Linked DNA regions of Homo sapiens: regions 1 and 2 are each linked to region 3. The links are contacts of gene promoters, found by promoter capture Hi-C in human tissues and cell types (Jung and others, 2019). All regions are on one chromosome and are shown on one strand. The core of a region is centred on a gene start or on the middle of the fragment in contact, and the rest is flanking DNA. Distances in the headings are between cores, read along the strand shown. Region 1 has its middle 26 kb from the start of COL6A1. Region 2 holds the start of SPATC1L (spermatogenesis and centriole associated 1 like). Region 3 holds the start of COL6A2 (collagen type VI alpha 2 chain).

Region 1 (2,937 bases), core at 137-2,636, 90 kb after region 3:
GAGGCAGGAGCCTGCTCTGACCTAGGAGTCAAGGAGCCATGCTGTGGATGGTCCAGGAAGGACTGGGGTCTCTGACCACTCAGAGTATCAGGGTGACAGGCTTTGCCCTCCTATCTGGAGACTTCGTGTGATGATCTGAAACACCACTCAGAGCATCAGGGTGACTGGCTTTGCCCTCCTATCTGGAGACTTGGTGTGATGATCTGAAACATCACTTTTCTAAACTGGGAACAAGTGTGGGCCTGATGGGCTAAGGTTTCTTTCCTATTTTTTCAAAGTTGAGCTGTTCTGTGTGGGGAACGTCCAGAACAAAAGGGGGTCCTAGCCTCTCCTCCTGACCTGGGAGGCCACAGGTGAGAAGCACAGTGCGGCCACCAGCTTGGAGGATGGTTCAGGGATCAAGGCACTTCCCTTCTTGAAGCAGGTGATACTGTTCGGCTCCGTGTCCCCACCCACATCTCATCTCAAATTGTAATCCCCACGTGTTGAGGGAGGGAGGTGGCTGGATCCCGGGGGTGGCCTCCCCCGTGCTGTCCTTGTGATAGTGAGTGAGTTCACATGTGATCTGATGGCTTTATAAGTGTTTGGAAGTTCCTCCTTCATGCTTCTCTCTCCTGCTGCCATGTGAAGAAGGACGTGTTTGCTTCCCCTTCTGCCGTGATTGTAAATTTCCTGAGGACTCCCCAGCCATCTGGAACTGTGAGTCAATGGAATCTCTTTTCGTTATAAATCACCCAGTCTTGGCCACGCACGGTGGCTCACGCCTGTAATTCCAGCACTTTGGGAGGCCGAGGTGGGAGGATCACGAGGTCAGGAGATCGAGACCATCCTGGCTAACACGGTGAAACCCTGTCTCTACTAAAAATAAAAAAAAAAAAATTAGCCAGGCATGGTGGCGGGCGCCTGTAATCCAGCTACTTGGGAGGCTGAGGCAGGAGAATGGCGTGAACCCGGGAGGCGGAGCTTGCAGTGAGCCTAGATCGCGCCACTGCACTCCAGCCTGGGCAACAGAGCAAGACTCTGTCTCAAAAAAAAAAAAAACAAAAAACAAAAAAAATCACCCAGTCTTGGGCAGTTCTTTAGAGCAGTGTGAGAATGGCCGAATGCACGGGGAAACTCACATTCGTGGCTTCTCACATCCCTTCAGGAAGAGGGTCTTGGGCACACACTGGACACAGCAGCCCTAAGGCCCCTTGGCTGAGGTGTTTTAGTACCAAATCCAGAGCCTTGGGCTGGTCCTCTTGGGTTGACCTAGTTGGATCTGGCCTGCGCCAGCCCATCCAGGCCTGATTTGCTCCTGACCCTGAAGCCCAGGGTGTCGGAGCCCCAGCTCCTGGGAGGAGTGGGAAGGAGAGGGAGAGATGTGGGTGGCCAGAGAGCCCCCAAGGGATTCCAGTGGGGATGCAGGGGCTCAGCCAGCATCGCCATCCCAACACACAGGGTGCTTGGGGATGAACCAAGGCTGGGACCTGATGGTGGGGTCTCCGTGCCTGGGAGGCAAGGGTGGCTGTGATAGGGCAGGGGGCTGTTGCAGGGGGTTGCCCAGAGTCCTGCCAGCCTGAAAAAAGTAGTTTTGCTGTTGAATTGTCTGATTATTTGGGGCCGAGGGGCCTCCAGGCCTGAGGCAGGACGTGCACATGGGAGCTGGGGCCTGGGGGCCACGGAGCAGGGGCCGCAGGGGCTGAGGCTGTGCCACGGGTGTCCGGAGCCTGGCCAGGTGTCAGTCCAGTGGGAGGTGTGGGGGCCACGGTGACCGGCCGTGGGAGTGTGTGTCCCTCCTGTGCCTCAGTTTCTACAAGATGAGAGGCCGGGACCTTGGAGTCTGCCCCCACAGGAAGTGTGAGGTGCAGTGTGAGACCAGGAGCTTCCCTGGGCCCCGTGGGGGTCTGCGTGGTGGCTGGGGGTTCTGCATGGCAACCCGGGCCTTGGTAACCCCCACCGCCCCTCCTGCCTGGAATCCTGGTGACCCAGGCGTTGGGGGATGGGAATGCCCGCAGGTGAGGATGGGTTGAGGTTCAGGAGAAACCCCGCCGGGACTTGGGAACAGGGGCCCCACCTCAAGGCCCCCCTGAACCCAGTGTGCAGCCCAGGGGTGACCCGGAGAGGTCCGTGAAGGACGGGCGCAGAGGAAGGGGGTCCCATAGAGAGCACTTGGGAGAGACCCTCTCACCAGGGTCCCTGGGCCTCCTCCAGGACAGGCCGCTCCCCTCTGGTCGCCCCAGCCTCCTCCCAGCCCCTGCCAGGCATGGGCCGCCGGCCGTGTGGGCACGAGGGGCCTGGGCCTCGCCACAACCCTCTCAGGTGGGTGCCATGGAGTCCTTCACCCAGCTTACAGGGGAGGAAGCCGGGACGAGGGCTCAGGGCCGGCTCGGGGTCACCTGGCCGTATACAGCGCAAAGCAACTGGGATGGGGAAGAGCGGGCCTGGGCCGGAGCTGTGTGGGGGCTGGGGCTGGAGGAAGCCTCTCCGAGGACCTTGCAGGGTAGCCTGGGCACGGGGAGGCTCCACGCAGAGTGTGGGCCTCAGCGCCGTGAGGGACCGTCCCGCTGGCCAAGTCCAGCCCTTGTCGCGCCAGGGCCGCAGCTGCAGTGCGAATCCCATGAGGCAGCTGAGAGAGGCTGGCAACTGCCTCACTGCGTCTGCCCCGGGCCCCGCCCACCGCCTCACTGCGTCTGCCCCGGGCCCCGCCCACCGCCTCACTGCGTCTGCCCCGGGCCCCTCCCACCGCCTCACTGCATCTGCCCCGGGCCCCGCCCACCGCCTCACTGCATCTGCCCCGGGCCCCGCCCACCGCCTCACTGCGTCTGCCCCGGGCCCCGCCCACCACCCGTTGCCTCTGACCCGGGCCCCGCCCACCGCCTCACTGCGTCTGCCCCGGGCCCCTCCCACCGCCTCACTGCGTCTGCCCCGGGCCCCGCCCACCACCTCACTGCGTCT
Region 2 (2,849 bases), core at 86-2,585, 86 kb before region 3:
AGCACGGGCATCAAGCTTTAACTACACCCCACAAATTCTAATGTCATGTTTTTATTCTCATTCAACTTGAAATATTCTCTGGTTTCCTTCGTGCTTTTGTCTTTTTCAAGACTTTTTTAAGAGGAGTTTTAGGTTCTTAGCAAAATTGAGAGGAAGATAGAGAGATTTCCCCACTCGCTGCCCCAACAAATGCACAGCCTCCCCTATTATCAACAAACTACCTGACAGCCACAATTGTCAGCAAAACGCACATGAGGGAAAAATATAAAATATAAGTAGCGTTGTATCTATTTAAGAAATTGATTTAGAAATTTAAAACTTTTCCAGAAGAAATCTAGTTCTAGATAGCTTCACAGATGAATTCTATCCGACGTTTAAGAAGGAACACCCAGAAAATGGCGCAGAATCTCTGCGGCTCATTTTAAAAGGCCAGTGTTCCAAAGCCAGACCGAGACATCACAAGAAAAGGAGATTCAGATCGACTTCCCCTGTGAGCATAAAAATACTTAAAATATTAATAAATTGAATCCAGCGCTATATTAAAAGGATAATGTGTCAAGACCAGAAAACTGTCAGAATGTTGATAGGTCCGTGGCTGGAGAGTACCTGACGTCAAGAGAAGGTTTCCTTGGAGCGGGAGGAAGACGGCATTTAAAATATGATGGGAGGAGCCAGGGCAGGAAAAGCCATTCAGGGCCCCGTCGGGCTCAGAGCGGGGGGCGCATCCGTGACTCATCCCTCGCTTCTCTCTCTGCCCTGCATCCTGGACGCCCTGCATGCCCTCGTCAGTGGGCTGTGGCTGGGCCCCCGTTGTCTTGATCTGAGGTGTGAGCCCTGTGGTGCAACACCAGGCTGGTTGGGTTGTGTCAGGAACGCTTGGGGTGTAGAAACCTCCTTTCTCCACAAAGCCTGACTCAAGACTTTCTCTCCTAGAAGCAACCTTCCCCTAATCTGGCCGCCCGGGCTGAATGAAGGTGGTGTTCTCCCAGGGGCATCTGCACCTGAGTGCCCTTGGTGGTCCTGAGTGCCCGTCACAGGGCTGGAGGTGTGGCCGGCCCACTGGGATGGTGGTGGTGGTGGGTGCCCATCACAGGGCTGGAGGTGTGGCCGGCCCACTGGGTTGGTGGTGGTGGGTGCCCGTCACAGGGCTGGAGGTGTGGCCGGCCCACTGGGTTGGTGGTGGTGGGTGCCCGTCACAGGGCTGGAGGTGTGGCCGGCCCACTGGGTTGGTGGTGGTGGGTGCCCGTCACAGGGCTGGAGGTGTGGCCGGCCCACTGGGTTGGTGGTGGTGGGTGCCCGTCACAGGGCTGGAGGTGTGGCCGGCCCACTGGGTTGTGCTTTCTGCCGTACGTCCCTTCCCATGAGGATGAGATGACCCATCTGTTGCATCCCGGCTGCTGATAAAACAAGACCCTCGGAGCCAAGAAACAACACTGAGGTGATTTACTTTCCCAAGTAATTGAAGCAGGGAGTCAGGGTGGGTTTCAAGTCGGTCGCACTGACTGAGGACAGACGCCTGCTCTAGCAGGGCCCCATGAGCCGCAGCCCTGTGTGACGGCCCGAGGGGCCGTGGCCATGGGTTGGGGGCGTCCTCAGTTACGTGCAGGCAGGAGCAGTGCAGTCAGGAACAATTGGTGTCTTAGACACGGGCGCTCGTGGTCTGAGGGGTGGACATGCACTGCTGGACCCTTCTCATCAGGGAGTGAGGTCAGTAGGTGGCCTCCAGCCCAGCCCTCAGGGCCACCCAGTGCTCCAAAGCATGTGGGGGCCATCGTGGGGCTGCCTCAGGCTGGTCTCCCCACCCTAGGCTGGTCTCCCCCGCAAGACTGGTCTCCTCCCCCAGGCTGGTCTCCCCCACAAGGCTGGTCTCCTCCCCCAGGCTGGTCTCCTCACCAGGCTGGTCTCCTCCCCCAGGCTGATCTCCCCGCCCAGGCTGGTCTCCCCCGCAGGCTGGTCTCCCCCGCAAGCTGGTCTCCTCCCCCAGGCTGGTCTCCTCACCAGGCTGGTCTCCTCCCCCAGGCTGATCTCCCCGCCCAGGCTGGTCTCCCCCGCAGGCTGGTCTCCCCCGCAAGCTGGTCTCCTCCCCCAGGCTGGTCTCCTCACCAGGCTGGTCTCCTCCCCCAGGCTGATCTCCCCGCCCAGGCTGGTCTCCCCCGCAGGCTGGTCTCCCCCACAAGGCTGGTCTCCTCCCCCAGGCTGGTCTCCTCACCAGGCTGGTCTCCTCCCCCAGGCTGATCTCCCCGCCCAGGCTGGTCTCCCCCGCAGGCTGGTCTCCCCCGCAAGCTGGTCTCCCCTGCAGGCTGGTCTCCTCCCCAGGCTGGTCTCCCCCGCAGACTGGTCTCCCCCACAAGCTGGTCTCCCCACCAGGCTGGTCTCCCCCACATGCTGGTCTCCTCCCACTGCCCTTGCCAGTCCCTCCCTCCTCAAGTGTGGGTGCCAAGGACGGACCCTGATGAACACCTGCACATCAGTTGCTGCCCTGGGTGCCAGGGTCCACAGGAAGCTGCACTGGGAACCCTGTGTCCTGGGCAGGTCCTATGGGAAGTGCAGCCCACATGTTACTCGGGTGAAGGCAGCGTCCCCACCCAGCTTGAGGACACCACACAGGGTGGACACCCGACCCTGGCTGGGCCGCTCAATGGGGAGTGGCTTGGACGCCCCTCTTGGAGTACAGTCGCTACATCCCGTAGCTGCCTAATGTCCTTGGCATTCTCGGGCCCTGGTCATAATGTGGGAGTGGCTGCCTGTGCACGCCACGGGCCTCCAGCTTCACTGCCTCAACGGGGCCATGAGCCATCGCGGGGGCAGGCAGGGTGCTGGGCACCTCATCACTAGGGCAGTGACATCAC
Region 3 (3,032 bases), core at 108-2,607:
TTTTTTTTTTTTTGAGACAGTCTCGCTCCCTCACCCAGGCTGGAGTGCAGTGGCGCGATCTCAGCTCACTGCAGCCTCCGCCTCCCAGGTTCAAGTGATTTTCTCCTGCCTCAGCCTCCCGATTAGCTGGGATTACAGGTGCCTGCCACCACGCCCGGCTAATTTTTTTTTGTATTTTTAGTAGAGACGGGGTTTCACCCTGTTGGCCAGGCTGGTCTCGAACTCCTGACCTCAGGTGATCTGCCCGCCTCGGCCTCCCCAAGTGTTGGGATTACAGGCGTGAGCCACCGTGCCCGGTCTGGCCTTTCTTGAAATAATCACCAGAGTCGAAGTGCAAGGGGGCCTCCAAGCCAGAGCTGTGTTATCCCAAGAACAAGGAGCTCCGCGGATCGCAGGCCCCTCCTTTCTGGGTTCCGACCCCAAAGGGAAGGTCCCTTCTCCAGGGGCGTCCTAGGCGCGGGCACCGGGGTTCTGCTGGCACAGCCCGGATGGGCGCCGCTCGCCCGCACACCTGCGGCTCCACAGAGGGCCGATCCGTTCGGTTGCCAGCAGTGGAGACCCAGGCCCAGCGGTTCCACCAGCGCCCCGGCGGAGTCCCAGGGCGGGTGTGGGCGGCCCGGCAGGGGCTGCGGGTCGCTGTCAGCCCGGGTCCCGCCGCCCTGGGGAGCCGCCTCCGTCTGCAGCTTCTCCTGGGCCTGGCGGGGCCCTGGTGGGCTCCAGGCCGGGAGGGGCGCAGCGATGGGGCGTCGGGGCCACCCGCGTCCCCTCCCCGCCCAGTCCCGCCCTCGGGCACCGAAAGCCCCTCCTCCCCCCGCCCCGCCGCCCCTTCCGTCCGGCCCGGGGAGAGGCCCTGCGCCCCCGGAGGTCCCAGCCAGCCGGGGCGTCTTCCCCGCGGGCCGGAGCCGGACCCGAACCGCTCGCAGACGCGGGGCCTGGCGGGGCGTGCGGTGCCGGGGTCGTCTCGGGAGCGGGGGTCCCAGCACCGAGCTCGGGCGCAGACAGGGACCCCCCCACCCCGCCCAGGCCGGCTCCGCCCCAGAGGAGGCCGCGGGGAGGTGGCCCCAAGTCGCGCGCCCGAGGGTCGGACCCAGAGACGCGGAGCCACAGGGGCAGGCGCGGCCCCAGCCCCGCGAGGAGGAGCCCCGAACCCGCCGAGCCCCCCGCCGTCCCTGGGGCTGGAGTCCCCCTTCCCGGGGACCCGAGGGACGGAGCCGCCGCCGCCGCCTTCCCAGGACTCGGGGTCACCCCCCGCGGGCCGAGCGGCTTCCAGGGTGCGGGGTCCGGGAGGCGCTCACCTGGTCCCGAGGAGGCTCCGCTCCCGACGGCCCGAGGCGCGGGCGCCGAGTAAGCAGCAGGGAGGGAACCGCGGCCGGCGCCGCCCCCTTTATACCCCGCCCCGCCGGCCTGACCCGCCCCGCCGCCAGGAAGCGCTGCGGCCCCGCGGATGGGAGGAGGGGGCCGGGGGCACGGGAGGGGGATGGGAGGGAAGCGGGGACCCTCGAGGGCGGGAGGCTGGAGGAGGTGGAGAGGGTGGGGACCCCCCTGCAGCCCGGGCCGAGCTCCCCCGCCAGCCCCTGCCCGCTGCTGCTCGGACTTCGCGTCCCGGGCCCGGCCGCCCGTCGCCCCCGCCCCATTTCCCGGACGACCTGGCTGGGGCTGTGTCCGCCTCCGGGGCCCTGGGTGTTGGGGACCGCGCCCCGCACGCAGGGCCGACGGGGGCCCTGGGACTCGCCCCTTGGTAGCAGCTGCCCTGGGGGGTGCAGGGTTCCCCCCATCAGCCCCCCGACCCCTCCCCTACCCCGTGTCCTGTGTCCGGCTTGCTCAGGCCTCCCGCGAGAGGCCCCGGGTCAGGAGCTCCTGCAGAAACTGCCGCTCCTGGGGCCTGAGGGTGGGGAGCCGGGAGGGCAGGGACAGCAGAGCCTGGGCGCGGAGGTTGGGGCAGAGCCTGGGCATGCGGCGAGCCACCCCTGCCACCCCTTTCCCGCTGGAAACCACAGGTGGGCTTGGTGCTGGGCCCTGGGACCACCGTGAGGTCCCCACCTGAGCCCAGCCGGGGACAGAGTGACAGGGGTCCCTGGTAGGGCTCTGTCTGGGGTCCCCACTCCCCACCCTGGTCACAGTCCCCCAGCCAGGGCCGGGGTTCCTCCTTGAGGTGAGGCGCAGCCGGGTTGGGGAGAGGTCCCTGGGCTCCGGGACAGGGCTCCCTTCAGAGCTGTCCTGGAAGGTGGCGGAGCGGCTGGGGGCGAGGTCCCTCTTCTGATGAGCAGGTTTGCAAATGTGGTGTGTGTGTGTGTCTGAGACTGAGTGTGTGTGGTGTGTGCATCTGAGTGTGTGGTGTGTGTCTGTGTCTGAGACTGAGTTTGAGTCTGTGGTGTGTGTATCTGTGTGTGGTGTGTGTCTGTGTCTGAGACTGTGTGCATCTGTGAGTGTGTGGTGTGTGTCTGCGTCTGAGGTTGAGTGTGAATGTGTGTGTCTAAGTGTGCCTGAGTGTGAGTGTATGTGCCTAAGTGTGCCTGAGTGTGGCAGCCACATGGTAGCCATGAGTCCAGGGCTCCTGCCTGCTGCTCCTGAGCACAGCTGACGGCGGGCACCGTGTGCCACTCCCCTGGGTCCATGCCGAACTCTCACCTGGGCAATGCCTCCTGCTTCCAAGCCAGCAGCTCCCAGGGGGAAGCCAGGCCCCTCCTCACAAGACCAGAATCCTTTAGGGGTTACCTTGGCTCCAGAAGTTCTCCCTCGGCCTGGCCAGCACTGTCTAGGGGCACGTGCTGGCCAAGGCTCCCCGTATCTCCTTCACAGGGGTCTCACCTGTGGTCTGAGGCTTCCGTCCTCTTTGGCCACCCCCCCAGCATCCTTCACAGACATTGCACTGATAAATCTCCAGTCACGTCAGAGCTTCCATGGCACCTGCCTCTTGGAAGACCCCAATTAACACAAGTGGTGCAGGAGGGGCCTGAGACTCAGCTGGTGCGGTGGCCGTTTCCCGGCCAACACCGAGGACACCATTCTGGTTGATGTGGGGATATGGGTAA

Evidence for each region. The method cuts DNA at HindIII sites, captures the fragments that hold promoters and counts their contacts. A contact is called where the count stands out against the background at its distance.
Region 1: a fragment that was not itself captured here is called in contact with the fragment with the promoter of COL6A2 in region 3 in 7 of the 25 tissues and cell types used here (H1 embryonic stem cells, IMR-90 fibroblasts, heart left ventricle and 4 more).
Region 2: a contact is called between the fragment with the promoter of SPATC1L here and the fragment with the promoter of COL6A2 in region 3, in 3 of the 25 tissues and cell types used here (heart left ventricle, mesendoderm cells and thymus).

The regions. Positions count from the first base shown.
Region 1 is chr21:46,006,121-46,009,057 of GRCh38, reverse strand. No RefSeq gene overlaps it. Among named protein-coding and RNA genes, the nearest start is that of COL6A1, 26 kb to the right of the region's middle. The HindIII fragment of the contact is 9,300 bases long and covers 1-2,937 here.
Region 2 is chr21:46,182,945-46,185,793 of GRCh38, reverse strand. It overlaps SPATC1L (spermatogenesis and centriole associated 1 like), which reads left to right and starts at 1,335. Exons shown (of 5, transcript NM_001142854.2): 1 at 1,335-1,438; 2 at 2,020-2,849. LOC124905045 (a long non-coding RNA gene) reads right to left here and starts at 1,247. Exons shown (of 2, transcript XR_007067914.1): 1 at 607-1,247. RefSeq lists enhancers at 2,066-2,669, 2,670-2,849. The HindIII fragment of the contact is 12,071 bases long and covers 1-2,849 here.
Region 3 is chr21:46,096,437-46,099,468 of GRCh38, reverse strand. COL6A2 (collagen type VI alpha 2 chain) reads right to left here and starts at 1,357. Exons shown (of 28, transcript NM_001849.4): 1 at 1,296-1,357. COL6A2-DT (COL6A2 divergent transcript) reads left to right here and starts at 1,824. Exons shown (of 2, transcript NR_186433.1): 1 at 1,824-1,997. RefSeq lists an enhancer at 1,240-1,534. The HindIII fragment of the contact is 26,496 bases long and covers 1-3,032 here.